Regions from separate parts of the Homo sapiens genome. Here all the other regions are linked to region 1. The links are contacts of gene promoters, found by promoter capture Hi-C in blood cells and fetal thymus (Javierre and others, 2016). All regions are on one chromosome and are shown on one strand. The core of a region is centred on a gene start or on the middle of the fragment in contact, and the rest is flanking DNA. Distances in the headings are between cores, read along the strand shown.

Region 1 (4,710 bases), core at 794-3,293:
GAATCTCCAGGGGCAGGTAAGATGCTCTAGAGACAAAGTTATGGGATTTATCAGCCATTGGGTGTTTCAGAGGAGAGAGCAGGGCAAGGAGACCGAGAGAACAGAAGAAAACTCAGGAAAGAATGGGGTTGAAAGTAAGGCATGCAAAACTGGAAGCTGCGACACTTGAGGTGGTCAGAGCACTTTTAGGGGACCTACTAAGCGCCAGGCACTGTGTGACCGCTTGAGGGAACCTCATCTCATTTCTCTGTCCTTACCTTAGGTGACTCCTGCAGAGCACCTGACAATCAGAGAAGAGTTAGAATACATTAAGCTCAGCATCACATATGTAGTTTGAATACAACTCCACCTCCTTCTCTTTCTTTCTCTTCTTTCCTGCCTTTGTTGCCCTACCCAGGATTAAAACCTTAGGTCTTATGTTAAAAGAATGACAAGAGAACTGTAGCATTCTCTGCCTCTTGGGCATCTGCAAGAGGTGGGATATTAGAGGGACACTGGGGGATGCTTGGATGATCACCTCCACCCCTCCACCCACTATGGCCTCAACATGAAGTTGGCCTTCTTGAAGTGGGTGAATCACTACAGCCCTTGTTCAGGAAGTGTGTTTGAAACCAGGCTTTTAAGGAAGAGAGGAGACGACATTTCTTGGGACCTTCCTGCCAACCTGACCCTTCTGGTTGGCACCACCCAGAGCTTCATTACTTAGGCCTGAAGCCCAGGTGTGTTGTTGGGCTCTTCCCCCTTTATGAGGCCCATGTTTCCATGATGCCAGGTGGCAGCCCTTCATCAGCCTTTGGACTACATCACTGTGGAGGTGGCTGGAGTCTCTTTTTTCATGCAAACTGCTGCCCAGTGAAACAAGATGTAGACATTTTGACTACAGCATTTCAATTTCCATATCCCCATCCCCAACCCCAACCTGGCTTTTTAGCCATGTCCTTCATTATTTCCTTCAGGCAACCTCTGTTCTAACCAAACTGGGTTATTTAAAAAGTAGAAAAAGTACAGGTCTTCATAGGAAATTCAGTGATTTGTACTATTTTTTTCATCTTCACCTATTAAACTTCCAAATGTGCTTCAAGACTCAAAACAAAGGCCCTATACTCTATGGTTACTTCTTCATTTGGTCACATTTTATATCTACCAGTAGAAGATGGCTTCTCTGGCCAGATATCAAGCTTCTTGAAGTTGAAGCTATATTTCTGTGGGGCTCTAGGGGATAGGGCAGGGGTAGTAGATTTAAAAAATGAACTGGACTAGAGCTTTAATTGTACTTTTTATCTTGATTTGTAGTAATGGTTTATGGGTGTATACCTAGGTCAAAACTTATCAAATTGTACACTTAAAATATGTGCAGGTTATTGTTTATCAATTATACTTCAATAAATTCACTTAAAAAGTGTACATTGTTCAAATCCTCCCTCAAGATCTCTTTCTAGAAGTAAGGCAATGAAACCAGGAATGTATGCCTAAATGTGTCAGCAGACAAAGGCTTTAAAAATGCTAGACTTGGAGATCAAAATATGCTACATGTACAATAAGAGCTTCTATAATTGTATATATGCCTTTCATGTATTTTCCCCTCAAGATTATCAACTGTGTGTTTGACAGTGAATATTAAATATGTTACCAGTTGAAATTTTTGGTTATAAATGTAATACGAATTGTTTCACAAACAAAACATGTAAAGCAGTATTAAAATTTGGCCAAACAAGTGTTCTGTATCTACTTTAATAAATGGTTATTCTTTAAAAAAAAAAAAAAGCTAGACTTGGGTTTGAAAGGCATAGAGAATTTTGCTTGGTTTCTGTAATTCTTGGGGGTTCCTATGGGCTGGCTGATAGGCAGCCAGCTGATTTAAGGAGTCCTACTAGGCATTTTCTTAATTTTATCCAACATTTCAGTACTGCCCCAACCACTCAACCAAGCTCTCATGTTGACTTTCAGCCATTGTGACAAGGCACCATCAATCATCATGTCCCTTTACCAGGAGGGCCCGTGTCATAAGCCACTATATAAAGGGAATGATGGGTGGACTGCTTTGGACAAATGGACCTGCGGTAGGAGAGAGGGACAACAGTAGGAGCAGGCAGATCTTGCTGTTTCAACCAAAACCTCATGCTGACCAGAGTTGAGGAACAGAAGAAGATGGTGAAGGCCTGCAGGTATAGGTGTTCAGCATGTCATCTGAAATATTCCCCACAGAGGCAAAAAGAAAGGAAATTATCTCTGAAAAGGAATGGGAGGACAAGGTATTGATGACATTTTCTGATTACAGAGGAGACTCTCAGGACTGAGGAATTGTCACCCATGCTTGGCCAATCTCCCAAACTGTCATGCCTCTGGCAAAAGCAAAGATCACCTCTCACCTTCTAAAGACTGGCCCCAGTACTTCTCTAACAATCCCTTCCCTCACCGACACCCACCCACCAATAAAAAACAACCACCCAACTCTCTCCCTGCTTCCCCACAAGTCCTGTGAAGAGCCAGGCTTTCTGTGCTCATGGCTTGTCTTCTTTGTGCTGTAGAGCCTCCCTCTAATCTTGTCCATGCAGTAAAGAGAGATCACACAAACCCTGGACCTACCTCTTTGAGGTGGTACTCTCAAACTCTTTGAAGGTCTGTATTTGATGGAATCTCTGGGAAACTGAGTTGGGAAGGTCCCTATATGAAAAACACGTGGGTTCTTGGAGTGTACATCTTTAATTTTCTTATTTGTCTCTTTAGTCAGCAGAATATGTCAATGTTTTGGTTGAAGAAGCTGCTTGAATCTGGGCTTTTCTGTGCCATGTGTTCTCCCAGGGCCAGCACAAAGAAGGGCTTTTGGTGCAGGCCCAAGACCACCATAATCATCATTGATTATTCCTCTCCACGCCAGTGTCTCTAAATAAACTTTCTCTTCTTTCTCTGACAAAGGTGTTTTTGAGTGTTACTGTTTAGCTGAAGAGTGACGTTGAGTGACCTTAGTACCCTAGCCCTTCATGTAATCAGATGGGTGTTGTAAGCAGAGGGAGAACCATGTGAGTCAGGAGGAAATATGTAGTTTACCCTTTTTTTCCTGTTTGAAAGATTTACTATGATGTTCATGGTTGGGCTTTTGTTTGGGATAAATTGAGATGCTTTCTGGATATGATAAGGGCTTATTTGGTTTGATAGACCGTCTAAACAAGGCCAGTGCAGGCTGAGCCAGGTGAACCACCAGATCACCATCAGCTCACACTTCTCATTCATTTGTTAGCAGAAATGAAGATGCTTGTTTTCCTAGAAACAAGCCCAGGTCATCCATCATGAAGTCCAGGAATTGTAAATGTGAGGAAGTGCAAAGACACAACGTACACTTACAAAGGCATATGTGCATTTGGAATTCTTTAAAGGACAACATCCTCGAGCTTCTCCTGGTAGTATACTCTAGATATAACGTAGTGTTTGGGCAATTTGGGATCAAATAATTCTTACAGCTTTATAGAATCCCTTGTGTAATTAAACTTGAACCTTGTATAACTTATGTAAAGGTACCAAATCATCTCTTACTCACAGCTTGCCTCCCCCTGAGAATCATAAATGCAATCTTTAAAAACCATTTACCAGCAAGACCAAAGCTAATCTGTAAGGTTGGGGCCTCAAAACTCAATTCTCTATTTCCTTTGGAACATGAAAGATGCAGAAACTGCCTTTTTATTGTTCATCTGACTTAGGTGGGCCCCAGGGTTTTGTCCTATTTCCTAGATGTTGATGAGCTTCTTGGGTTTCTTTGATGATTGCTTTTGCTCTTCAGTGGTCACATTTGGCCTTACTCAGTGTAGGGGTGTGGAGAGGTGGCAATTTATTGCTTAAAGATGTTATAGCAGGTGTTCCTGGGCGCAAGAGCAGAGTGTCCTGAGGTAGTGTATGTAGTAATAATACAAGTCGCTCTTGTGGTAGCAGGCTGTAGTAATATAGCTATATCATTGGATATAAGCATGTATTATGGTAGTAGGCCGTGGTAACGGGTTACAGGCACCTCTGGTAGTAACAGGCTACAGTTAATGGGTTATAAGTGTGTCTGGCAGTAGTAGGCTGTAATAATGTTGTGCATACACTGGCATAATCTCAGGGAGAAGGCAAAGGCAAAGAGGTCAATAGCCTTCCCTGTGTCATTCTGGTGCTGTCCTCCATGACACCCTCACTATATTTGCTACATTTACATAGGAAATGTTTTACTATTGAATAAATGCCCATGTGCCAGGTCCTGTTCACATGTCCATGTACTCCAAGAAATGTACATATAGTAAATATAGTCTAAGACATATAGTCCAGGAGAAAACCAGAATAAATTTAACAGTGCCAGGAGATCCATCACATGTTCAAACTTGAAACTTAGAAGAAAATTTTGAAATTGATAATTGTGGAGAACTTCAGGATGTGAAATATTTGAATCTTCTGTCTAGGGCGTTCAATATTTATTGATGAAAGTCTTGTATGAGGTAAGTAACCATGACCCAAGTTATAACTTACAGCAGCTTTTGTGAGTTATGCGAGGTGATAGGGCCACTTGAGAGAGCCCCTACAGAGTTATAGGGCCAGATAGCAGATGTTTTATTCTTTGCAGGTGAAAGCAGCCATAGTAAGTGAATAGCTCTGGCTTGTTAACTTTGCTGGATTTGGCCTGCAGACTGCAGTTTGTCAGGCCCTGCACTACAGATTGTGGAATCATCATTTCATTTATCTCAG
Region 2 (4,710 bases), core at 1,552-4,051, 860 kb after region 1:
CCAGCATAGCTTAGCAAGCTTAGTACCTCTGTCTTGGCCACTCAAGCAGCTCTGATCAACCCCTGGGTTGAAATTCAGGAGACTTCCTGCGGCCGTGCTGGTAGGAGATTATTGGTTATGGAAATTCTGAAGCTACACCTGGTTCTCTCTGTGGCTCAACTGAATATCTAAGTAATGAACTCAACTTCCTGTGGATACCCTATGTAGGAGTAAAGGCTTTAAAATATGCGCTGGGGAATCAATTCATACCTCCAAAGGAGCAGGACTTCTTAGGGACCATCACCATAATTGCTGTCATCACCAGAACTTTGTGATGAACTTGTGAGCTATGACACAGTGTCGAGCTACAGACAGGGCTTCAGACTGAGTCTTGGCTCTCTGGTTCACAGTTAAAAGCAGGCACTGCAGAATAAACTGACTCTTAGACTGCCACTGTGTTGGTCATTTGCCTGTTTGGTCTGCATGCTAGTTCATTTCTGCCCTGTTCTGCACTGCAGAATACTATATTTCTTAGGCTTTCTTGCTTGCTGACTTCAGGATAGCTTTGACCAATGGGAGGCATGACAGAAGGCTGAAGGAAGAGGGAGGCCACGCTGTTTCTGCCACTCTCTTTCTGCTCTGGGCAGCATCTCAGGGAGTGTCAGCCTTGCTCCATGGCCCTAGCTCCCACCACACAGGCCAGCCATGGTCTTAGCTTCTGCAGGTGGCCCCATCCTGGTGGCCAGTAAAACCACCTCCCCCTTATTCCTCAGCCCTAGGGAGGAGTCTTGGAAGCTTCCATGTCATTAATTCCCATTTGGTTTCTCAGCTCTCCCGTCTCTGCATAACCAATTCCTTGTGTTCAACTCTTGCTATGTAACACACTCAGAGTGGTTTCTGTTTTCTGCCTGAACCCTGACTAATAGAGCAAATGACAGAAATTCAATCAAACTAGCCAGGAAGGAGAAAGAATTTGTTCTTCACAGAAGGAAACTGTGGGAAGGGCAGGGCGCAGCTGGGTCTCAGAGCAATTGGATCCAGAACTGTCTGTGTTGCTCATCTCTGCTCCTCTCTACAAGCCAGCTTCCTTCCCCCAGACAGGCTTCCTCCACATTCCTTGGGAAATTGTCCTGAGCAGCTCTTAGACTCGCATCTTTGGGCTCAATGCCAGAAGGGAACAACTGTTTTTCTTCTAATCCAATTTAAAAGACAAAAGGTAAGGGCTTCTATCAGTCTAGCTTGGGTCAGTGTCCACCTCCATGGCCAAGGGACCAGGGAACTGGTTGACAAAACCTACTAGAGTCACATGGTTGGGGAGTGTCCAAGAAAACGGTGCCAGAGTCACCACTTAAGTGATAAGGCTTATTAGGAGGCACAATCTCAAGGCAAAGACTTCTCACTCTCTCAAGAGAGAAAGGAAAGGGGTGAATGCAAGGAATGCATTTCCAAGCTACCCACAGCTCCACAAAGGGACACAGCCAGTTTCTGATTCACAGAGGATGTCTTCACACATCCGAGGCATAATCACTGCCCCTGAGAATCTTCCATCCCATAGAAGAAAAGAGAAAAAATTGTCTGCTGGATCCCTCGCATCTCCTGTCTTTCATAGGTCAAAGTTTTCTACATGAGGCACTATCTCCCCATGTTGCTGGGCTGTAGCCTTGCTTGGCATCTTGGGGCAGTCCCTACCAAAGGCATCAAAGAAGCAAGGAAAGCAGTGTGGCACTTCAGCAGAGACTAGAATGGGGAGGCATCTGAGGATCAGGTTGGATCAGGTTGGCCACAGCAGAAGCAGTAGAGGTGATGTTGGAGCTCAAAACTCATCCCACAGGAGGGAACCCATGGGCAGCAGCGTGACTGTGGCAGCAGACACAGAGGATCAGTCTCCATGAGCAAGCAGTGAGGTCCTAAGAGAAAAGAAAGGTCCAGCAAATCCGAGGTGATGCAGACATTAAAGCAATGGGGTGGGAGGGGCAGGCCCCAAAAGGACAGCGCTGTTCTTAGCAGGAAGGGGTCATATAGGGACAAAACAATAGGTTCAGGAATAGAAGCCTGCCAGGTTGAACAACAAAAGATTCAACCAAAACAAGGTATTTGTAGAATGTAGACATCAAGGGCAAACAAACAGGTATAGGCAATGCAGACAGAGCCTCAGAGGTGGGCTTGCCAGAGCTGTATCAGTGTTCTCCACTTTTCTCCCTCTCTCAACCCTGACCACAGCTCTCCACTTTCATCTTCCCTTCTTCTGAGCATCTGTTCTGGGCCAGAGCCCATCTCAGGCAAATAATGCATGGTCTGTGCCTGCATTCGTATACCTGATTCCAAGTACGTCTCACCTTCTCCTCAACCAAGCCATCATCTCCCACCAGTCTCCATGATCCTCTCCTAACTCAGTGGTCCCCAACTGTATTAATCCTTTTTCATGCTGCTACAAGGACATACCCAAGACTGGGTAATTTATAAAGAAAAGAGATTTAACTGACTCACAGTTCTGCAGGGCTGAGGAGGCCTCAGGAAACTTAAAATCATGGCAGAAGAGAAAGCAAACACATCTTTCTTCAGAAGGCAGCAGGAGAGAGAAGAATGAGAGCCGAGCAAAGGGGGAAGCCCCTTATAAAACCATCAGATCTCAAGACAACTTACTATCACAAAAATAGCATGGGGGAAACCTCCCCCGTGATTCAATTACCTCCTACTGGGTCCCTCTTGTGACACATGGGGATTATGGGAACTACAATTCAAGATGATATTTGGGTGGGGACACAGCCAAACCATATCACCAATCTTTGTGGCACCAGGGACCAGTTTCATGGTGGACCAGGTGTGGGGGTAGGGGGAGAAACTGTTCCATCTCACATCATCAGGCATTAGGTTCTCATAAGGAGCACAAACCTAGGTCCCTTACATGCACAGTTCACAGTAGGGTTTGTGCTCCTATGAGAATCTAATGACACCACTGATCTGACAGGATGTGGTGCTCAGGTGGTAATGTTTGCTCACCCCCTCCCCCACTCACCTCCTGCTCTGTGGCCTGGTTCCTAATAGGCCATGGACTGATACCTCTATGGCTTGGGAACTGGGGTCCCCTGTCCTAACTGGTCCCCTGCTTTTCCATCTTTGTTTCACTTCAGTGTCTTCTATACACAGCAACCAGGTGATCCTTTTAAAACCCAAATCAGATCATATTTATTCCCTTCCTCAAATCCTCCAAAGACTTCCCATCACACCTCAGACAAAATCCATGCTCATTGTTCCCCCGGCATGATCTGACCTCCAGCCTCCTGCCCGCCATTCTCCCCTTCACTGCTCCCAGTTTCAACTGCACTGGCCATCTTGCTGTTCTAGAGCCCAGGCAGCATGCTCCCACCTCAGGGCCTTTGCTCCTGCTGTTTTCCCTCCTTAAACCACTCTTCCTCCAGAGAGCAGCGTGGCTCGTGCCCTTGTTTCTTTCAGGGCTATGTCCAAAGTCAGCTCCTCAAAAAGGCCTCCCTGATCATCCAAGCTAAAACAGCACTCTGCTTCATGCTGTTCCCCTTACTCTGTTTCTCTAGTCCTTATAATACTACTTACCATTCATGACATCAAATTATGGGTGGGGGGGTGCAGGTTTATTTCTCCCTCTTCTCCCTTCCTTTTAGAATGTAAGCTGCATGCAGAAAGGGGCTTTGTTATATTCCCTACTGTAGCTAGAATAATGCCTGACACCACCGAGCTCTCAATAAATATTGGTGCAATAAATGGATTAATCTGGTGGGAGACAGATTGGCCACTACGGTATGACAAGGGCTGGCATAGATACAAGAACAAGAGTCTTGGGTTACATTCTCCAGCCAGAGGGGTCTGGGAAGTCCCAAAGGGCATGAGCAGCTGGGATTCATCCTGCTTGCAGTTTCCAAACCAGTTCAAAAACAACAGGAGATTCTGATCAGACAGAGTTGGCTGATAGGGAAGAGCCAAACTGCTTCTGGTGCGGGGCAGTTCAAGGTGAGCTCAATGAAGTCACTTAGGGCCTGTGCTTAAAATACTGTTTATTTTCTATTTTTAAAAATGTTTGTCATTGAAATGTCATGGTGGAAGGGGAGTTTGGGAATCATCTAGGCCAGCTATCCTGCTGCACGGGTCAGAAAACTGCATCTCAGAGACAGAAAATGACTTTTTCCAAGTGACAGGGTGAGTTGGTGGTCAAGTCTGCTCCCCTGTCTGGGATGCATAGACACTCTTGGCTTCTCGAGTGCCTAGAGGATTTGGTCCCAGGGATACTTATCCTTTCAGACAGCAGCCTCTGAGAACCTTTTATGCCAGTATATTGCTAAAGTGAAACCTGGCTACTAGAGAAAGCCTCTCTGTGTTTAAATTCAAATGTGTGGTTTGTCAGAAAAGTAAGGATTTTACTGCTGTTATTTAAAAAATGGTTCTGTAAACATCATGAGGGCAAGGACACCTGTCTTATTCACCACTGCATTCTAAGTACCGGCCAGGTGCTGGACACATGGTAGGTACCCAGTCATTATGGTTGAATTAACTGGTTAAGGAAACTAGAAAGTAATTCTTCCAGAAGAAAAAAGTTGAGCATGAAACTTGGTATTCTCTCCATTTTGCATCCGTATGGGAGGAAGATGCAGGGAGGCTTAGATTTTAGAATGATGATGGGAGTGTTAGAATGACAAACTAAGGGATTTTTCTGGTTCCAGTAACTTGGTATGGATTAAAAAGCAACAACTTTCGTCACTC
Region 3 (4,710 bases), core at 631-3,130, 840 kb after region 1:
GGCCCAGGTGAAAGAACTGATGACTCTTTTGAAGTGTTCCTCACATGCTGTTGGTTTCCTTTCTTTTATATTTACATGCGTAATCTCTTTTAATTATCACAGCAAACGTTTGAAGTAGATTTTATTATTTTTCCCGCTCTACAGATGGATGAGCTGGAGCTGAGACCACTATGGCAAAGCCACAGCATGAATCCATGTCATCTAATTCATGCCCTTTACACTATTACCACCTGGTAGAGTTTGCAGTAACACTACTCACTTCTATTGCAGTTAGAGCAGAGGCTCCAACAAGAGCCCAGCGGTGGCCAGATTTCTTCCTGCTTTACCAGATAAGAAAGAAAACAGTAATTGGGTGACAATACCTAAATTCCCTTTGGGGTTCTGGGCATAAGAGAAGTGTTACATGTGCCTTCCTTCATAGGATAACAGACTCCAATGCTTACAGGACTTCTGAGAGATGTTAAGAAATCAATCCCCATTAGGCAAATTAAATCTAAATAAATAACACCCACTCTGCATCTTCCTGGAAAAACCCATCCCAGGCCCATATGGCTTCAGGCAAGTTGCTTAGAAATCATGAAGATCATGTAGAGACACAGGATGCAAATGCAAGACACCGATCATTTGGTCTCCTCCTTTCCATGGCAGCTTTCCACCAGGAGGCTATGGGAAGGTCATGGCCACCAGATGTTGCTGAGGACAAGAAAACTTGTTCCTGGCTGGGCTTTGCCAGAAGCCTCCCTCCACCCTGCTGTACCCATGGTGTTCTGACAACCCTGTGGTGCTCACATCCACAGTGGCCTCTCCATTGCTTCCAGTGGCCCATCTGCCTGGGCAGCAGGAATCAGAGGGGTGTGACATGGAGACACAGACCATCTAGTACTAAATGTTTGTTAAGGCTGAGTAGAGTCTGGAATGTTGGCTTGAGGGCTGCTGTCTGAACCATCAAAGCAATGAAAAACTTAAACGAATATGCCATTTGAGATGTTCTCCGAGGTGGGTGAGCTCTTACAAGCAAAAACTGGAAGAACTACTCTGGTAGAGGAAATTCCTTTGGACACTGATTCAAGTTCTGGCTGTGCCACAGTGGTGTCATCTCACATACCTCCCCACTAACCTGCTCTCCCCATACTATGTTGAATTTTCTGTCTTTAGCCAAAGCCTCTTTCAGCCTAAATGAGACCTTCTACTGGTGGAGCTTCAAAGCACTCCATCTCCCGGCATCCCCCACCTTCTCAAATTTCATTTAAAAGACCATGAAACACCATCTCTACTCCCACAAAGATAAATGCCATGCAATCCATTCTCCAGCCTAGCAGGCCTTTCTCAGGCCATCTCACATCACACACTCACCCTCCAGCTTCCTGCTGCCTAAGGTGCTTGAGTCACACCAGATCCCTTCTTCTGGGGAAGCTTGTCAGATAGCTCCTTTTATCCCACACATTTACACCAACTGCCATCATCACCATGCATTCAAACTCACACTCCAGGACAGGCATGGACCACAGATGTCCCAAAGCCACATCTCCTAATCCACAGATTCACACATCACATTACAGGAACTCAATTACTTGGTGACTAAAGTCAAGCTCAGAATCTCTTCTCCATATTCAATAGATTCACTCTTCCTCACTCAACTTCCTCATTCCAACAAATTCAGAGACTCTCTACTTTTCTAAGAACTTACAGGTCCCCCTTAGACCTCCATAACACCTAGGAGAGTTAGATGTCATTACTCCCATTTTATAGAACAATAAATCAAGGTTCAGAAAGATTGAGTGACTTGGCCAAGTTCACACATCAGGCTGGAGACTGCCTGCTGAGATTCAAACTCAGATCTGTTGAAAATCTATGCTCTGTCTAACAACTACAGGCTGTAACACAAGGGATTTACACAAGATTACACAATTGTTCAATAGGGTTAGGAAAATAGAAACAAGAGAAAGGACAGGGCCAGAGGAAGAGAGTAGCAAAGATGAGCTAAGAAGGTAAACTTATTGTCAAGGTAAAGAGTTGAAGTTTTACGTTACAGGCATTTAACCATGCCAGTTTTTTAAGCAGAAAAGCAAAACTAGGGGGAGGAAGCAATAACCTAAGTAGAAAAAATTCTCTAAAAATCATGTGTCAAGGTCCCTTCCTCCAGCAAAGGCTTCCCTTAAGCCATCCAGACAGGGTGGAACGGTTTCTCAGAAATCTAAGCCACTCCATGCCTGTGTGGTATGAAACCCCATGCAAATGCCATTAAGCCTTCACCAGAGGCTCCCTGCCATGGGCTCTCCCTGTCTCCAGCTGCCCCAGGACAGCAGGGCTGCAGCAATGGCTTGGTGAGCAGATCTGGTTTGCAGCACAAAGCTTTGCACTCCCCCTGGACTGTTAGCCCTGACACAGTACATAGCTGTGGTTTCTATGGGAAAGCCCCTGGCTACCCACACCAGGCCTTAAATGTAGGATGAATCCCACAAAATCTCCCATCCGAACCTGCATTAGGACTCAAATCCTCGGCTGATCCTGGCAGGGCTGGGCCTCCGGGCACAGATTAGCACAGAAACCCCAGGAACTCAAAGCACCTGCAGGCAAGGATCACTATGGCTGGGAAGCCAGCATCCCCAGGTCTCCCTGGCCAAGTCAGATCTCTTTTCCCAGAAGTCTTTTCATGGTGAATAGGACACTATGACCAGGAGTCAGGAAACCTGGGTTCTTGTTCTAGGCCAGTCACCAACCAGCTCTGGGGCCTTGAGTAAATCACTAGCCTTTGCCGGGTCTCTACTTTCTCATCTCAGGAATACACCACCAGCCCTTGCTACTCTGCAGAACTTCGTAGAAGAACATGTAAGAGTATGGATGTGGAAATCATAGCCAACTTCCTACTTGGTGGGATACCTGGAGAAGACTCAGAGATGGCAGATAGATAGATAGATAGATAGATAGATAGATAGATAGATAGATAGATAGATAGAAAGAAAAACAGATCATCTCCCAGATTTCTGGGAACAGTACAGATGGCAGATGTTCTTCCTCAGTTTACTCATGAGCATAGTCTTACTTTTAAGGCGGTATGCCTAATTTCTTGTGAGATAATAAAGATGATAATTCAGTCAGGGAGATGGATAGAGCCTAGAGGAGGAATTAAGGGTGTGCACTTAGCCATCACTACTCTACCTCTGTTGAGCTGTGCCATCTTGGACTAGTTACACAGTTTCTCTGGGCCTCAATGTCATCATCTGTAAAATGAGATTATTAAGAGTTGTACCCAGTTGTGGGTACATAGTACCTAGCACATGCTCAGTGCTCAATGAATGGTGGTTGATGATGTCAAAAAGGAATTCTGACTTTCAGGCTCTGTCTATGTTGCTCTGTCCTTCCACTCCTCCCCATCCCACACATCCAAAGTATATCTTGTAATTGTGACCCTGGGTGTGCCTTGAAGGGTTTGGCTCTTTCTTTTTCCTATGCACTCCTCCTGGAAAACAGCAGACCTGCTGAGGCAACCAGCACAGAAACAGAGCTCGTGCCGACTCCCAACTGCCGGGGATACAAAGGGCTGCTAGGGAGATGGAGCAGGAAGCACAGCCCTGGAAGAGTGCACTGTCCCCCCAGCATCCGACAACCGGCCTCTCAGTGTGGAGCTCTGTGGGGCACAGTTGACGACTGTCACTCACATCCACTGACACCACCGTCTATGCCATTTGTCAGCAAGCAGAATGTCCTCATGTGGTTTGACCTGACTCTCTCAAGTCCTGGGGAACAAGGTTGCACCCTCCACATGAAAACAACCAGCTCAATGCACAGAGTCTGGTCAGATTCACAGCTGGAGTTTGCATCTGTCACCCACCACCCTGCAAGGTTCTATTCTTCAATTCGACCAAATAACTTGTAACTGGGGACACAGCCCAAACATGGAACCAGGAAAGGTCAAGGTTCCAAGCTACCTTCGAGATCATCTGATCCAATAACTTCATTGTTCTGGTAGGAAAAGCAAATCCCAGCGAGGGGACTTACCAGAGATCATACAGTTGGCCAGGGAGTGGCTCAAGGATCTAGGAGTAGCAGAGGCATCTTCACCCCCCCTCACCTGGGAGAAAACAGAACCACAAAGAGGGGGAGGTCGGCTGGTGGAGGGGACTGACACCGGTTGCATTTCAGGGGCTTCGCAAGGGGTAGAATGAGCACTGGACTGAGGGTTAGAAGACCAGGGTCCCCCACGTGTCTCTGCCTCGAATCAGCTGGGCCCCCGTGAGCTGTCACTTCCCCTCTCTTTGGGTCTCAATTCTCTCTTATAAAACGGAGCATCCCATCCACCTCTAAGAATGGGTTCAAGGAGCAGATGAAAATGTGTTTTGAAAATCCTGAGGCTCTACATATGTACAACCAAATTCTGCCCATCTACACAGCCACTTTTAGCTGTTGTCCCCAAGGCCTGGAAGCAGGCAGAGGGGAGAGTTAGGTAAGCTCTCTGAGCACATCCAAGGCTGGAGGGCTTCCCTCAGCAAAGGGGGCCCAGAGCACCAGGCTAAATCCATGTCATTCAAGCAGCGCTCAGGTTGTGTCTAAGCAGCTTTGATTTTAAAAGATTAGGAGGGCCGCAGGGTGGAAAGAAAAGTTGATGAGGCAACAAAGTCCTGCCCGCAGTACCACACTGCCCTCTGCAGGGTGTCTGTGAGAAGGCACCTCGGCTGGCCAGGTCAGGTTAATTCCGACTGCCCAGGGTCA
Region 4 (4,710 bases), core at 1,623-4,122, 710 kb after region 1:
GGGGGCTTTGGTGGTGATTAGATCATAACAGCAGAGCCCTCATGAATGGAATCGTGCCCTTATAAAAGAGGCACCATAGAGCTAGCTAGTCCCTTCCACCTGTGAGGACACAGCAAGTAGACGTCGTCTGTGAACTCAAAAGCAGGTCCTCACCGGACACTGAATCTTCTGGTGCCTTGATCTTGGACTTTCCAGCCTCCAGAACTGTGAGGAATAAAATTCTATTGTTTATAAGCCACCCAGTTTATGGTATTTTATTGGAGGGGCCTGAATGAACTAAGACAGGCTAATCCTGTGGGTGGAGTTAGGGATCCCAGACAGGGGAAGAGAAAGGAGCAAAAACTAAAGCCCAGGCCAAACCTAAAATCCCCTTCCTGAAAGAATTAATGGTTTTCTAACCTGTAGACACTGCTCTGAAAACCTTACCAAACAACACACATGACACAGCCACTGTTGCAAGGAAACAATTCATTTTTGTCTACTGCTGAGTTACAAGCACATCATGGTTCCCCAATAAATGTGTTGAGTGAATGTCCATTTGTTTAAAGTTGGTAGGTAGACATTTTATTTTCTAAGATGGTTATTTATATAATTTTGTTCACATGAAAAAAAAATTTAAAAATCAACTAAAATACAGAGAAATTAAAGGCTATATATTTTATGATTCCACTTATACAACATTTTCAAAAAACAAAATTGTAGAGATGCATAACAGATCAGTGGTTTCCAGGAGTTATGGAACAGAAGGGAGGATGTGATAGTGAAGGGTGTGACTAGCATGAGAGAATTCCTTCGAGGTGACAGTAGTCCTGTATCTTGTCTGGGACAGTGGTTATATGAGCTATAAGAGGATAGAACATCATAGAATTATACACAAAGACATACAAGAAAAATGAGTGCATGTAAAAACTGGTAAAATTGGAATAAGTTCTGTAGTCTAATTAATTATATTATGTCAATATCAATTTCTTGGTTTTGATCACATATGATGTCACCATTAGACGAAGAAGGGTGAAGGGTTCACAGGACCTCTCTGTGCTATTATTGCAAGTTTTTATGAGCATATAATTGTTTCACATTTTAAAGTTAGGGATAAAAGCTCTATGCACAATCAATTTCAACGTGTAAACTTAATTGGGCTCTGATTAAAATAAAGAAAATGTATTCATGAGACAATTGAAGATCTGAACACTGAATATTTGACGATATGAAGAACTTAATTTTAGTTTTTATATAATAATAGTATTGAGGGCTTTCTGAGGAGTCCTTAAATGTTTTTAGTTACATATGAAATATTTATGGCTGAAATGATATGATGTCTGAGGTTGATTCAGTTAATATGGGGAGGGAGAAGAAGTGACATACAAGATACAACAGTGGCTATGAATTGGTAACTATGGAAACTAGGTATATGAAAGCTCATTGAACTATTCTTTCTTTTTTTTCTTTTTTCTTGAGATGGAATCTCACCCTGTTGCCCAGGCTGGAGTGCAATGGCATGATCTTGGCTTACTGCTACCTTCGCCTCCAGGGTTCAAACGATTCTCCTGCCTCAGCCTCCCGAGTAGCTGGGATTACAGGTGCCTGCCACCACGCCCAGCTAATTTTTGTATTTTTAGTAGAGATGGTGTTTCACCATGTTGGCCAGGCTGGTCTCAAACTCCTGACCTTGTGATCTTCCCACCTTGGCATCCCAAAATGTTGGGATTACAGGTGTGAGCCACTGCACCCTGCCTGAACTATTCTTTCTACTTCAACATATGTTTGGAAAATTTTAAAGTAAAAAATTTTAAGTAGTAAAACTTTAGTCCAAAAAAATTTAAAAATAGAAAACTCCATTGAGACTCTTATGAGCTGCCTCTCTTGTTTCTTACTAGCAGTTTCCTAACACAGGATTTACTGTGGGTATTGGTATATACCCCTTATTATCATATCACATTTGGGAAAATCTGGGCAACTTCTCCACAATTGTTCATGAAAGAAAAGTCTTTAAGCAAAATGGTTCATTTGAAATAAAAATCCTCTTGGTCACAGTGTTTTTGGAGGTGTAAAAGCCACAGCTAACTTGATTGTCACTCTTCCTCCCTTGCTGCAATGAATGTGGTGCCTGGTTTTCTGTAGCAGATCTTTCATCCATCTTTCTAGTTATTTCTATCCCCTTTCACTTTAGCCTTGACCTCTAATTCACTGTTTTGAAAGAAAAAAAATTAGGAGTGTGAGCTTGTTCCAAAAAGCTTGCTTATTTCCTCCCTTACATTTTCCCATGCCCATCTCCCCAGAGAGATTCTGGCACAGGACCCAATTCCCACATCTTATTGTTTTATAAACACTTATTAAGGACCCTATGTTGCCATTTCTCATTTATTCCTCATAACCACCCAGTGTGGTAATACTATTAGGTCTACTTTACAGATAAGGCATCTGAAATTTAGAGGTTTCCACTGAAGATTGCAAAGCTGGTACTGGATAAAGTGACATAGAAATTTCTTGTTCAGGAATAAATAAATGGACTCAGAACTCACTGTCTTCATTTGGTGGTTCTAAAATTTATTTTGAGAAACCTAAACCATCATTTAAGAAACCCATGGCTGAATGTGGGATTTTTTTACAGACCTGCCATCAGTTTCTCACCCCCATATACATCCTTCCTCTCTTGTAGAAAGTTGCAAGAATAAAGAGGGGATCTTTCTACCCGCTCTTGACACACACCACCAGCTCAACTCACCAAACCCCAGCAGATAATTTGTTTCAGAATATTCTAAACCATTCCCATGGGATTATTACAAAGAGATTTTCCAAATGGAACTAACACTGAAAGGGTTAAACCAATTTTATTTTTCAATTTTATAAATGTTTAAAAGGTAAAAGAGGGTTAGCCGTTTCCATGGGTATTACTATGTTGACAGCCAAACTGCCTACACAGAACCCCAAAATTCTCAATTAGCTATCTATGAGCACCATGATCTAGTTTCCCTCACAAGGAGGCCACCTGTTTGCTTTCCTTCTTGAGGATGGAGAAGTCTTGAAGAGTGCGCCATCCCATCTTTTTCCTTTTTCTCATTCCTGACATCACTTTACTCATTCCCCTGCAACCAAACAGTGCAAACCTCACGAACCACAGAGACTCCCTTCCCTCCATGACCATTCCAGCCCATTGGGCACCAGACCTGGAGGGAGTTGGGCTGTGAGATCGGCAAGCTGAGCTGGCTCTCCCAGGATGAGCTCCGGAGTCACAGGATCCCTGGAGACCTGCCAGAGTGTCTCTCCAGAGAACCTGAGACAGCTGCCAAGGAAGCCTCTCCTTCATCTGCAGCACTACCTTTTGGGGAGATGCTATATTTGGAGGAAATGTCAGGCAAAATCTGGGCTGGGAATTAGACTGCTCAGGGAGTCACCAACTCTCTGGGTGGGTGAGGACTTCTGCAAGGCAGCTCTTCCATGCTTCTGCCTTGGAGTAGAACTGCCCATTGTCTCTAAAATCTCATTTTTTAAGAGCTCCCGTCCTCACGATCAAGCTTGTCTAAATTTAAGAATAAATCCCAAGCTATCTCTTGGAACTGAACTGAACTACATTCTTCTCAAAGAGCCTTGTAGGAAAGCAACTTAGGCATATGAGAAAACTATGCGTAATTCTTAAGTGGGAAAATGAGAACTGGGGGAAGATGGACGGAACCCAATGCTGCAACTCAGTTTCCATAGCCAGATGGGAAGCACAGGAGGGACAGGAGCCTGGTTCTGTTGACCATACAAATAGTCACCTCACCTTCACAGACCAGACCACTCAGCCTTCTCTGCAGAGGCTACCTGCCCAGATTGTTCACAGAAACACCTAAGAGGATTGACTTTCAGCTTCGTGATCTGGCTTGGCAGTCTGAATCAATGCCTCTAAACTAAAAGTTACTGGTTATTTCTCTTTATACCAAGTAGCCATTCTTCCTCTTGTTCTCAGTGCTAGGCAATCCCTGATCACTCTCATCCCATCTCCCAGATTCATTCTCTGCCCTTCTGCCCAGCCCTGTGCTCCGGTCTTTAAGGATGGCATTTCTAGCTGGGCTATGGTTGGGTTCAGCCAGCTGAAAGGCACTGGTAGGAGAAGAGAAAGAGCCGGCTGTGCTCCCCGGCCTGGTTCTAGCAATGGTGGCACCCCTCCCTTGCTGCAGTTCTCACCAAGAAGTCCCTCTTTCCTGACTCAGCTCTCACAGGATGCCCATGGCCCTTTCCCAGAGTCCTTGCCCCCTCAGCCCTGGGAAAGGTGACAGCGTCCTGCTGCCCCTCTCTGAGTGTCTCAACACTCCTTCTTTGTTCCACTGACACCCTGCCCTCACTTTCTGAGGTGGTGCCTTCATTAGAGTCTCTCTTTGAACCCTCTAAGGTAAGTTCCTTGCCTTCTTGGAGCTTGCTATCCTGTCATACTCAGCTCCTTGTAGAGACACAAGCAGTCCAGGCAGGACCCTGCCTCAAGGTCTGGTCTTTCCACATCCTTTTCCATTTCCCTGTAACTCTCATTGCCTTGATTTCTGTCCAGTCTGTCTCTCACTTTCTTCAGTTCTCTGGCCACATGTCACCTAATCACAGATACATCTCCTGACCCCCACCCCATCCTCTTGCTCCTGTCACTCTGTCTCCCATACCCTGCTCTAGTTTTCTTCATTTTTATCATTTGACATATTATCTAGTTATTGATTTGTTTATTGTCTTTCTTCTCTGGCT
Region 5 (4,710 bases), core at 1,346-3,845, 650 kb after region 1:
GCTGGGGCCATGTCAGGGAACACCTGAAATGTAAAATTTCCTGTATCCTTGAATCACTTTTTTGGCTTCACTTTTCTTTTTCTTTTTTTTTTTTTTTTTGAGACGGAGTCTTGCTTTGTCGCCCAGGCTGGAGTACAGTGGCACGATCTCAGCTCACTGCAACCTCCGCCTCTCAGGTTCAAGCAATTCTCCTGTCTCAGCCTCCTGAGTAGCTGGGGATTACAGGCGCACACCACCACGCCTGGCTAATTTTTGTATTTTTTTAGTAGAGACAGGGTTTCACCAGGTTGGCCAGGCTGGTTCCGAACTCATGACCTCGTGATCTGCCTGCCTCGGCCTCCCAAAGTGCTGAGATTACAGGCGTGAGCCACCATGCTCAGCCTTGGCTTCACTTTTCTAATGTCTCCACATTTGGGATCCAGAATGGTTATCATATACCACAAGCCTGGTCATGTTTGATGCATCAAGATTTATAGCTTTTAAAGTGCTTTGAATTATAGACTAATAGATTAATAGATATTAATTAATAGATAAAAATAACAAAAATAGTCCACCTTTGGAAGTAATATGCTTAATGTGCTCTATGTAACCTTGGAGTGAACTGTTTCTGATAACTTCTTGTGGCCCAAAATGTTATCCTGCCCTAAAGAAATACTAACTGGCTCAGTTGAAGATGGGCATGGTAGTTTCCATGTGAGGATTAGAACAGCAGGAAGGTCCTTGCAGAAAGAGAGATAATATAGCCATTGCAAAACATTGTATCCAGTCTGCAAATGATCATCTTAGAGAAGTCCTTAAGCCCATTTATGACCTTAGAGCTAATTTTAACTCAAGTAGGAGAGCTAGTACAACATAATCATCAAATCAAGTACCAGGCAAAGAAATGGCAGAAATAAGACTCAAATCCAGGTTTAACTTGGGTGCAACCTGGGCAGTTAGAGCACTTCTCCAAGTGTCCTTGTCTGTAAATTAGAGATACAAAGAGTAGCTACACCTTAGAGTGACTTTGAGGATGAAATGTGGTAATAGACATTGAGCTTTTAGCACCATCCCTAGCACATAAAAGATGCTCAATAAATATTCAGTGATTACTGTTGAGTGAATAAATTAATAAATATAATTCAATACATGTTAATAATTCAACAATGAATTACTAACCATTAATAATGAATAATTCAGTAAATGTTATTAAAGGAAAAGGGGAAAATATAGATATTACTGTTCCCCATGGCTCATTATCACCCTCATGGATAAAGATAGCTGTTTAGAAGAGGGAAAAAAAGTGAAAACTGCAAAAGCAATTAAACATCCCCAGCAAACACAGGTTTGGTAGAACTAGAGAGAATGACAGGAGTCTCTGAAATGGCTCGGGACTAGGAGGAAAGACTTCTGGATCATGGTCCCGACCCTGACACTAATTGATGTGTAGTTTTAGGCAAGTCACATCACTTCTCCAGTCCTCAGGGTTTCTAACTTCAGAATGACCACATTGGGCTGACTGATCTCCAAGTTCCTTTGGCTCTCTGACTTAATCTGAGGTTATGAGATACCCGCCTGCAAAGTCTAAAGACCCTTGAAACCCAATGGCTCTTGAGGAGAAGTTTCTTAACAGTATTGCAGTTTAGTCAGGAGACTGAACTAGAGAACCCAGGTGGACATTCTTTCCAGCCAAAGACTCAATACTTCTGGAAAGATTAAGGTCACATTTGTTTCAAGAGTGTCCAGTACAACAAAGACCTTCCACAGGGAGTAGTAACTATTCCTGATAGGGAACCTCCAAACTGCAATAGGCTTTACCCTTTTTTATCTTTCCTCTTTCTTCGTGCCTCAAGTCAGATCATAGCAAGAAGAAACCTTGGAAAATCCCCTCTTCTCCTCCACACCTCCCAGAGATGCCCAAAAAGCAGTTTAATGCTTTTTCGTAGACTTAGAAAACAGTTCTGTTCTTCCCTGGGCTCAGAGAAGCCTCCCATTTTGGAGCTCTTATCTTCAAAACCTTGCCAGGGACAGGCACTGGTGATTCACAATGGTACTTAATGTGATTTAGACTTATAAATCAAGAGACCGCCTAAGAGTAAATTCCAGGGAGCCTTAGGCCAGACTCAGGGTCCCTGTGTGTAAACAATCAAGTCTAACCCCCTTGGCTGGCAGGCTCTCCTGTCTCAGGGGACAGGAGGTAGGACCGCCTCTTGTACAAGTCTTAACATCGTCCATGACCTCAGTCTGCTTCTAGTGGGACTTTGGGAGACCATCCTCTCAAACTTGAGCCATTTCAACCCAATTTCTCCTCCGTGATCCAAGGAGAAATAAGGCCTGCCATCTCTGCTGGGGGATCTTTCTGGCACCAGCTAGATGGATCCCTGGCACTTTGACTCACAATTCCTCCCCTTACACAAGACAGCAGTTCCTGAGGCCTGCATATTCCAGGCATGAAATTGACAAGAGCAATTCAGCTTTCATATGGGAGCATATGAGGTCAGCTCAGCTTTTGGCCTCTGCAAGGAGGGATGTAGAAAGTCTCCCCACAGGAATATCTGGTGGCATCCTGACACCAAGCCTCCTTTTATGTTTTCAAAATTTTTTAAAGTTTTATTTTGTTTTTAATTGACATATAATAGTCATATATATTTATGGGGTACAGTATGTTTTGATACATGTATACATTGTGTAATGATAAAATCAGAGTAATTAGCATATCTGTCACCTCAAAGACTTATCAAAGTTTCAGGATACAAAGTCAACACACAAAAATCAACAGTGTTTCTAAACCCCAACAGCAAACTATCCAAAAAAAAAATTAAGAAAACAATCTTATTTGCAACAGCTACCAAAAAAAAGAGTAGGAATAAATTTAACCCAGGAAGTGAAAGACCTCTACAATGAAACTATAAAATATTGATGAAAAAAAAGGACACGGCCAGGCACGGTGGCTCACGCCTGTAATCCCAGCACTTTGGGAGGCCGAGGCGGGCGGATCATGAGGTCAGGAGATCAAGATCATCCTGGCTAACACAGTGAAAACCTGTATCTACTAAAAATACAAAAAAATTAGCCAGGCGTGATGGCAGGCACCTGCAGTCCCAGCTACTCAGGAGGCTGAGGCAGGAGAATGGCATGAACCCGGGAGGTGGAGCTTGCAGTGAGCTGAGATTGCGCCACTGCACTCCAGCCTGGGCGACAGAGCGAGGCTCCATCTCCAAAAAAAAAAAAAAAGAAAAAGAAAAAAAGGACACAAATAAATAGAAAGATATCCTGTGTTCATGCATTGGAAAAATTAATAGGGTTAAAATGTCTGTACTACTCAAAGCGAGCTACAAATTCAATTCACTCCCTATCAAAATACCAATGATTTCTTCATAGAAATAGAAAAAAAAATCCTAAGATTAGTGTGGAACCACAAAAGACCCTGGATAGCCAATGTAACCTTAAGCAAAAAGAATAAAGCTGGAGGCATCACACCACTTGACTTCAATATCTACTAAAAAACTATAGAAACCAAACCAGCATGGTACTGGCATAAAAACAGATACAAAGACCAATGGAATAGAATACAGAACCCAGAAATATATCCAGGCATTTACAGCCAACTGATTTTTGACAAAGGCACCAAGAACAAACATTGGGGAAAGAATCATCTCTTTTATTCTAGTAAAACTGAATATCTACATGTAGAAGAATGAAACGAGACCCCTATCTCTCACCACATACAAAAATCAACTCAAAATGGGTTAAAGACTTAAATGTAAGACCCAGTGCTTTTTTAAAACTACTCAGCAAACGCTGGCTGTTCTGAGGGTTCAGGTGGCTTCTTAAATCTCTGTGTTCAAGGGCTCATGACTCATTTATACTTCCTGGAAAGTGTCAGGAACTATTTCCAAATGGGCAACTGGTGAGAGTGAGATGTCAAGGGCAGTGTGGCCTCAGTCTCCTAGCCTGCCCCTCATGGGGCGCCAGATTAGGGTGTCATTGCAGAAACGTATGTTCTTGGAGTTTGGTTTCTTTTTAGCATCCAGCCTCTCTGCAGTGATTGCTGCAACCTCTGAAGGAGCAGTTCTTTCTAGCAAGGACTTTTTAGGAGTTCCGTCTCCCCCATCGAGGTGTTAACCTTAAAATCTCATTTCTTCCCAGCTCCACGCTAACTCAGCGATCAATCTCCTCTTAAATTGAAAAGTGTTGTCTCTGAACTGAAAAGGAATCGAGGTTTATGGAGCCTGGTCTGCTGAGAAGAAATGAGGATGGGATAGCTGCCTTCAATGGCTGAATTCAAAGCTGTCAGGAGATCCAAAGAGCACACAGTCTGCATGGCACTCAGGTGTTAGACAAAGGAGGAAAAGTTAAAGATGGGGGATTTGGGATCAATATAATGAATACAGTTATCAAGCACAACAAAAGGCCAGACATTTTATACACATGGCTATTTTGTTCTCCTGAAACATCTATGAAATGGGGATTAGACTATATCAGGAAACAGGCTGGAAAGGAGGAGGTGCATTGTCAGGCCCCTGCAGCAGTCAGAGCACATATGGTGGATAAGCTAAAGGAAAATTCTGGATTGGATGGGAGAGTGGGTCAGTGATTCTCAACCAGGGGTGGTTTTGTGTCCCAGGGACATATGGCAACATCTGGAGACATGTTTGATTGTTATGAATTGGGGAGTGATACTGTATCTAGTGGGTACAGCCAGGGGTGCAGCTAAACACCCTCACAATG
Region 6 (4,710 bases), core at 586-3,085, 620 kb after region 1:
GGACTGTTAGAGACTGTGACTCACTTGCAATCTCATACGGGGAAAGAGTTCCAAGCCTTTCTCCTCTCCTTTCCCTAGCATGTGAAGATGGGGAGACCCATTGTTTATCTTCGTGTGATACAAATTGAACAAACAAAATGGACTGTTCCTTTAACAGGTTGACTGTAAGCTAATCATGATTTAAAAAAAAACTAACTGACTGTTTTCCTACCCCAAGATGGGTAGCAGAGGCAAACTCCATGGTCATAATAGCAATGACAGCAAACACTTTTACACCATTTACCATTTGCAGGCACTGTTCTAACTAACCACTTTACACATTTTAACACATTTAATCTTGACAACTTCATGGGTTAGTGTCTTTACTCGCCATATTTTCAGGTGAGGAAACTGAGGCACAGGGAGTTTAAGCAACTTACTAATAAATGAGGAGGTTTTCTGGCCCCAGACTCTGCTTTTAACCACTCCCCTATATGCTTTGCACATGGCAAACATGATGCTGAGTGCTTTATAAAATCATCTGACTCACTCCCATTTGACAGATGAGAAAACTAAGGCTGAGAGTTGCAAAGTAACTCGAAAAGATTACACAAATAGTAAGTAGCACAACCAGGATCTGGAGCTAATTGGACTGACTGCACATCTATCCCATCTACCCCATCTACCCCTTTCATTTCCAATGACCTGCTAGGTGTGGAAGCCCCAGCAGATGAGGAATACACAAGGCAGAGTAGTCATGAGCCACAGCTGATAGCATGGTAAAGCTGTATTCCAACCAGTAGCCCTTTAGCAGGTGCTCCCAGCAGGCTCCGGGGCTTCCTCATCTGCCTCCAGTTCAGACTAAGATCTGGTCTTTTTCCAATGACTCCATCTTCTTCTGAAGTTCCAATTCCATTGTTAAACACGGTAGTGGAACTGGCATTTAAAAAATCCATTCACTTTTTAAAAAAAATTTTTTAATCTCTACTCATTAAAGTCAACTGTTAAAGAGTAAATGCTCCAGGGAAAAGGTAACATTTTAAACTCATGTGGACAAACTTTTGGGGGAATGAACTGAGGGGTAACTGACAAGGACCCCTGGGTATGGATGCACAATAGGGACTTGAAGAGTCAAAGAGGAAATGAGGAATAAAGCTTCACTAACTCACTCACTGCCCAGTTGTCCCAGGGACAAGTCTGGGCTCCTGTCCGTCCTTTGTCTTCTGGTTTCTTCCCTCTAAAACACCACAGACTCAAAGGTGGCAGATCAGAGCAACTCTAGAGACCCTTGCAGATATGTCAGAGTGTCAAGGGCTCAAGGGCCAGTTCAATCCTTTCATTTTATAGACCAAAAAACAGAGACCTCAATTGCTACATGATTTGTCTATGGTTATACAGTTAAACGGTATGAAAACCAATAATAAAACTCAGAAATAATGGTCTTGAGAAAAATAAGCAGCCCTAAGCCACTGTAGGAATTTTCATATGTCCAGTCCTCTGATTTTCTCTCTTCCTGAAAAGCTCATTATTCTTTAGTAGCACGACAGAAATGTCCTTTACACAAAAGAGTAGAAGTGTCATGTGGTTGAGAAACAGGGTTTGGACTCATACACTCCACATTCCAGCTCCAGCTCTGACATTCATAGCCTGTGTTATCTTGGGGAAGTCACAAGTTTCAGACGCTCAACTTCCTCAACTGTCAAACAGAAAAATCATAAAACCTTTCTTATAGACTTGTTTCAATCATGAGTTAAATTATCATATTTGACAGCACCTAATACAGCTTCTGGTACATTTTTGGGGCTTAATGAATGCTTTGTCATTGCACTTTGATCAGACGAGGAATATTTGGGATGTTTGAGGAACTTAGTTTGATTTTCTATCCCAATGGACCACCAAGCCCTTGCCTTATTTTTTTTTAATCCCAAACATTTTTATAATTGAGTCATCTATTCCTGTTACCTTTTCCTTTTTCCAGCCTTTCAGTTTGGCATCATTTCCCAGCCTAACAAATTTATTGCCTATTTTATCATTCAGAATGGAGGTGATGGTAGCAATCACTTTTCACCTCTGAGTTTTACGGACACTCACCTATCACACTCCAGCTTTGGCCTCTCCCAGATGGACACCTATTCATTGGAAAGCAACATGTGGAATGAGCTGTGCGGACACTGGTATGTCTACCAAAGACCTCTGGGATTCTATTTCTCTCATGCTATTCGTCACAGTACCTGATGCCCTGGTGCTCACCTCCTTCTTGAAAGTTATGCCATCCTAACCTCCACCATTCGTCTTTTCCAATTATCCTCTCTTTTCACTAATGTCCTCTGACTTCTTCAGTTCTTGTTCTTTCCTCACCCCTTAGCCACAGCATCACTTGAGTTTAATACATATCCATCTGCATTAATTTCTGTGACTAGAACAGTGGCAATCCCACCCCCTTTTCCCCTATTTGGAGAGAGACATGGGAAGAAAACAGCTTCTCATTAAGGAACTTAATCAGGTCTTATTTAAGTAGTCGTCTTAAAGCTATGGCTGAGCCTTTGGCCTACAAAGTAAAGCTTAGACCTTAATATTAACAGCAAAGAGATATCCTCAAATACCCTCTATATGTAGAAGATTTTATGAAAATCTGAGGGAGAAGCAGGCCTCGTATAAATGTTTTGTCATTAAATTTTAAAAGAAGCATACTTTTTTATTAAAATTTTTTAAAGAAGCATACTTCATGTTTCAGTGAATAGATGGAAGTTAAAGGAAATCACAAGAAACAGAAGGGAGTAACATTCCAAGGGAGGCAGAAACATAGAGATAAAGGTAGCCATAAAAATGTAATTTTCTGAGATTTTATCTACACTACCCTAATTATAGCAAGAGAGTTGTACTATTCTTAAAAAGCAAAATATAGATTTAGGCTACTTCATCTATTTATATGACTTAAATTACAACAATTTTTAAAACTAGTACCAATATTTATACAACTCCAAAATAAATCTGTGGAGTTGATAGTATTCTTCAAGACATCCTCTTTGTCTATCATAATCTCACCCCCTTTCTCCATCTCCTGCAATGACACCTCAATTTGCCCAGTTGCCAGCATCAACTTGAAAGCATCTTCTCCCTCCTTTAGTCCCATATTCTTCATAGCTAAACTCTGCCAACACCACAGGGAGTGGGCAAGAATGACCACAGTAGATTCAGATGTAATCAGTTTGTTGCTTGGGATACACCATACTTAGCCTGTCAATCCACCTGAAAAAGGAACAATAAATTCCCGTCCTTACTTTTCCTCACCCAAATTAGCCCAAACAAATTAGATTGGTAGAACCATTTGTTCCCATCTGGTTTCCACAGGACATGTAGACTCAGAAAAGTTTTCTTTTTTTGTTGTTGTTGTTTGTTTGTTTTTGTTTTTAACTTTTATTTTAGGTTCGGGGGTATATGTACAGGTTTATTACATAGGTAAACTTATGTCATAGGGGTTTGTTGTACAGATTATTTCATCACCCCAGTATAAAACCTAGTACCCATTAGTTATTTTTCCTGATCCTCTCCCTCCTCCCACCCTCCATTCACCCTCAATCCGACAAGGTGGGAACCATTGGATGCCCATAAGCCTTCTGAACCTTGTATAATAAACTACTTGGGGCTGTCTTTTCTTTAGATCTCAGAAACCACAATGAGGAACTATTATCAGTGACTTTAGTCAGGGGAGCAAGATGGGAGTTTGATAGATCCCAATATGTGTTGTTCCTCTGTCTATGTGTTCTTCTTATCATTTAGTTCTCACTTATAAGTGAGAACATGTGGTATTTGGTTTTCTGTTGCTGCATTAATTTGCTAAGGATAATGGCTTCCAGCTCCATCCATGTCCCTGCAAAGGACATGATCTGGTTCTTTTCTATGGCTGCATAGTATTCCATGGTGTATTAATATATGTACCACAATTTCTTCATCCAGTTTATCATTAATGGGCATTTAGGTTGATTCCATGTTGCAAAGGTTCCTTAAGATTCCATCTTTCCTTTAGTTTCATAGCCTATTTTGCCCATTTCTCCCATTCCTCCTTTCTTCCATTTCTTTACCCCCAGATGTCCAAAGCAGCCTCCTGACTTATATTCTTGTTCCCCTTTCTTCCCCTCTCTTTAGCCTAATTCATTTAGATTCCAGAGAAACTGAGCCACATTTTCACCATTTGTTGGTCTCGACTAAAATCAAAAATTTGTCATTAATATGCTACCACATGTAAACAGGCAACAAAGTAAATGATTTTGACCTAAATATTTGAGACATTGGCTCTTGGTAAATACAAAATCTCCTTCATGTCATGAGGACATGTATTTGACCAGACATTGGGTAAGGGGTTGAGGAAGCTTTGTGTCATATTTTTGGGGAAAGACCACTATACCTCCATCGCTACATCATCTGAGAATTTAGAATAATCTGTATCAGAGACTAGATGGTCAAAAACTTAAATTGCAGAAGATATAACATCACTTTCTGTGCACCTATCAGTGTGCATATGTAGACAATCACTTCCAGAAAGAGGGGAGACTGGGCAGCTGGCTGGATGTACTGGGACATATTGAACCATTTTTTGAATGTTTGGGGCTTGGCAAATAAATGCATTGTGCCCGAAGCACCTTTTTCCCTTCACTTAAAACCCATGTGTATTGGAAAGGAAATTTAATTCTTATGTTTCTGATTTGCCCACATTTAACCCATCAAAATCCA

What was found. The method cuts DNA at HindIII sites, captures the fragments that hold promoters and counts their contacts. A CHiCAGO score of 5 or more calls a contact.
Region 2: a contact is called between a fragment that was not itself captured here and the fragment with the promoter of TESHL in region 1, in 2 of 17 cell types (naive CD8 T cells and non-activated CD4 T cells). The highest score is 5.8, in naive CD8 T cells.
Region 3: a contact is called between a fragment that was not itself captured here and the fragment with the promoter of TESHL in region 1, in 1 of 17 cell types (total CD4 T cells). The highest score is 5.5, in total CD4 T cells.
Region 4: a fragment that was not itself captured here is called in contact with the fragment with the promoter of TESHL in region 1 in 1 of 17 cell types (endothelial precursors); the score reaches 5.8 in endothelial precursors.
Region 5: a fragment that was not itself captured here is called in contact with the fragment with the promoter of TESHL in region 1 in 2 of 17 cell types (M2 macrophages and endothelial precursors); the score reaches 5.9 in M2 macrophages.
Region 6: a fragment that was not itself captured here is called in contact with the fragment with the promoter of TESHL in region 1 in 2 of 17 cell types (endothelial precursors and megakaryocytes); the score reaches 7.5 in endothelial precursors.

The regions. Positions count from the first base shown.
Region 1 is chr2:216,868,729-216,873,438 of GRCh38, forward strand. It overlaps TESHL (testicular germ cell expressed HSF2 interacting lncRNA), which reads left to right and starts at 2,044. Exons shown (of 2, transcript NR_130782.1): 1 at 2,044-2,252; 2 at 2,728-2,911. The HindIII fragment of the contact is 5,034 bases long and covers 1,177-4,710 here.
Region 2 is chr2:217,732,240-217,736,949 of GRCh38, forward strand. All of the region lies in intron 2 of DIRC3 (disrupted in renal carcinoma 3), which reads right to left. Among named protein-coding and RNA genes, the nearest start is that of DIRC3, 56 kb to the right of the region's middle. The HindIII fragment of the contact is 4,058 bases long and covers 773-4,710 here.
Region 3 is chr2:217,709,030-217,713,739 of GRCh38, forward strand. All of the region lies in intron 2 of DIRC3 (disrupted in renal carcinoma 3), which reads right to left. Among named protein-coding and RNA genes, the nearest start is that of DIRC3, 79 kb to the right of the region's middle. RefSeq lists an enhancer at 4,696-4,710. The HindIII fragment of the contact is 939 bases long and covers 1,412-2,350 here.
Region 4 is chr2:217,582,297-217,587,006 of GRCh38, forward strand. The region is part of intron 2 of DIRC3 (disrupted in renal carcinoma 3); the gene reads right to left. Among named protein-coding and RNA genes, the nearest start is that of DIRC3, 210 kb to the right of the region's middle. The HindIII fragment of the contact is 1,281 bases long and covers 2,233-3,513 here.
Region 5 is chr2:217,513,703-217,518,412 of GRCh38, forward strand. All of the region lies in intron 2 of DIRC3 (disrupted in renal carcinoma 3), which reads right to left. Among named protein-coding and RNA genes, the nearest start is that of DIRC3-AS1, 230 kb to the left of the region's middle. The HindIII fragment of the contact is 9,357 bases long and covers 1-4,710 here.
Region 6 is chr2:217,489,878-217,494,587 of GRCh38, forward strand. All of the region lies in intron 2 of DIRC3 (disrupted in renal carcinoma 3), which reads right to left. Among named protein-coding and RNA genes, the nearest start is that of DIRC3-AS1, 210 kb to the left of the region's middle. The HindIII fragment of the contact is 1,406 bases long and covers 1,133-2,538 here.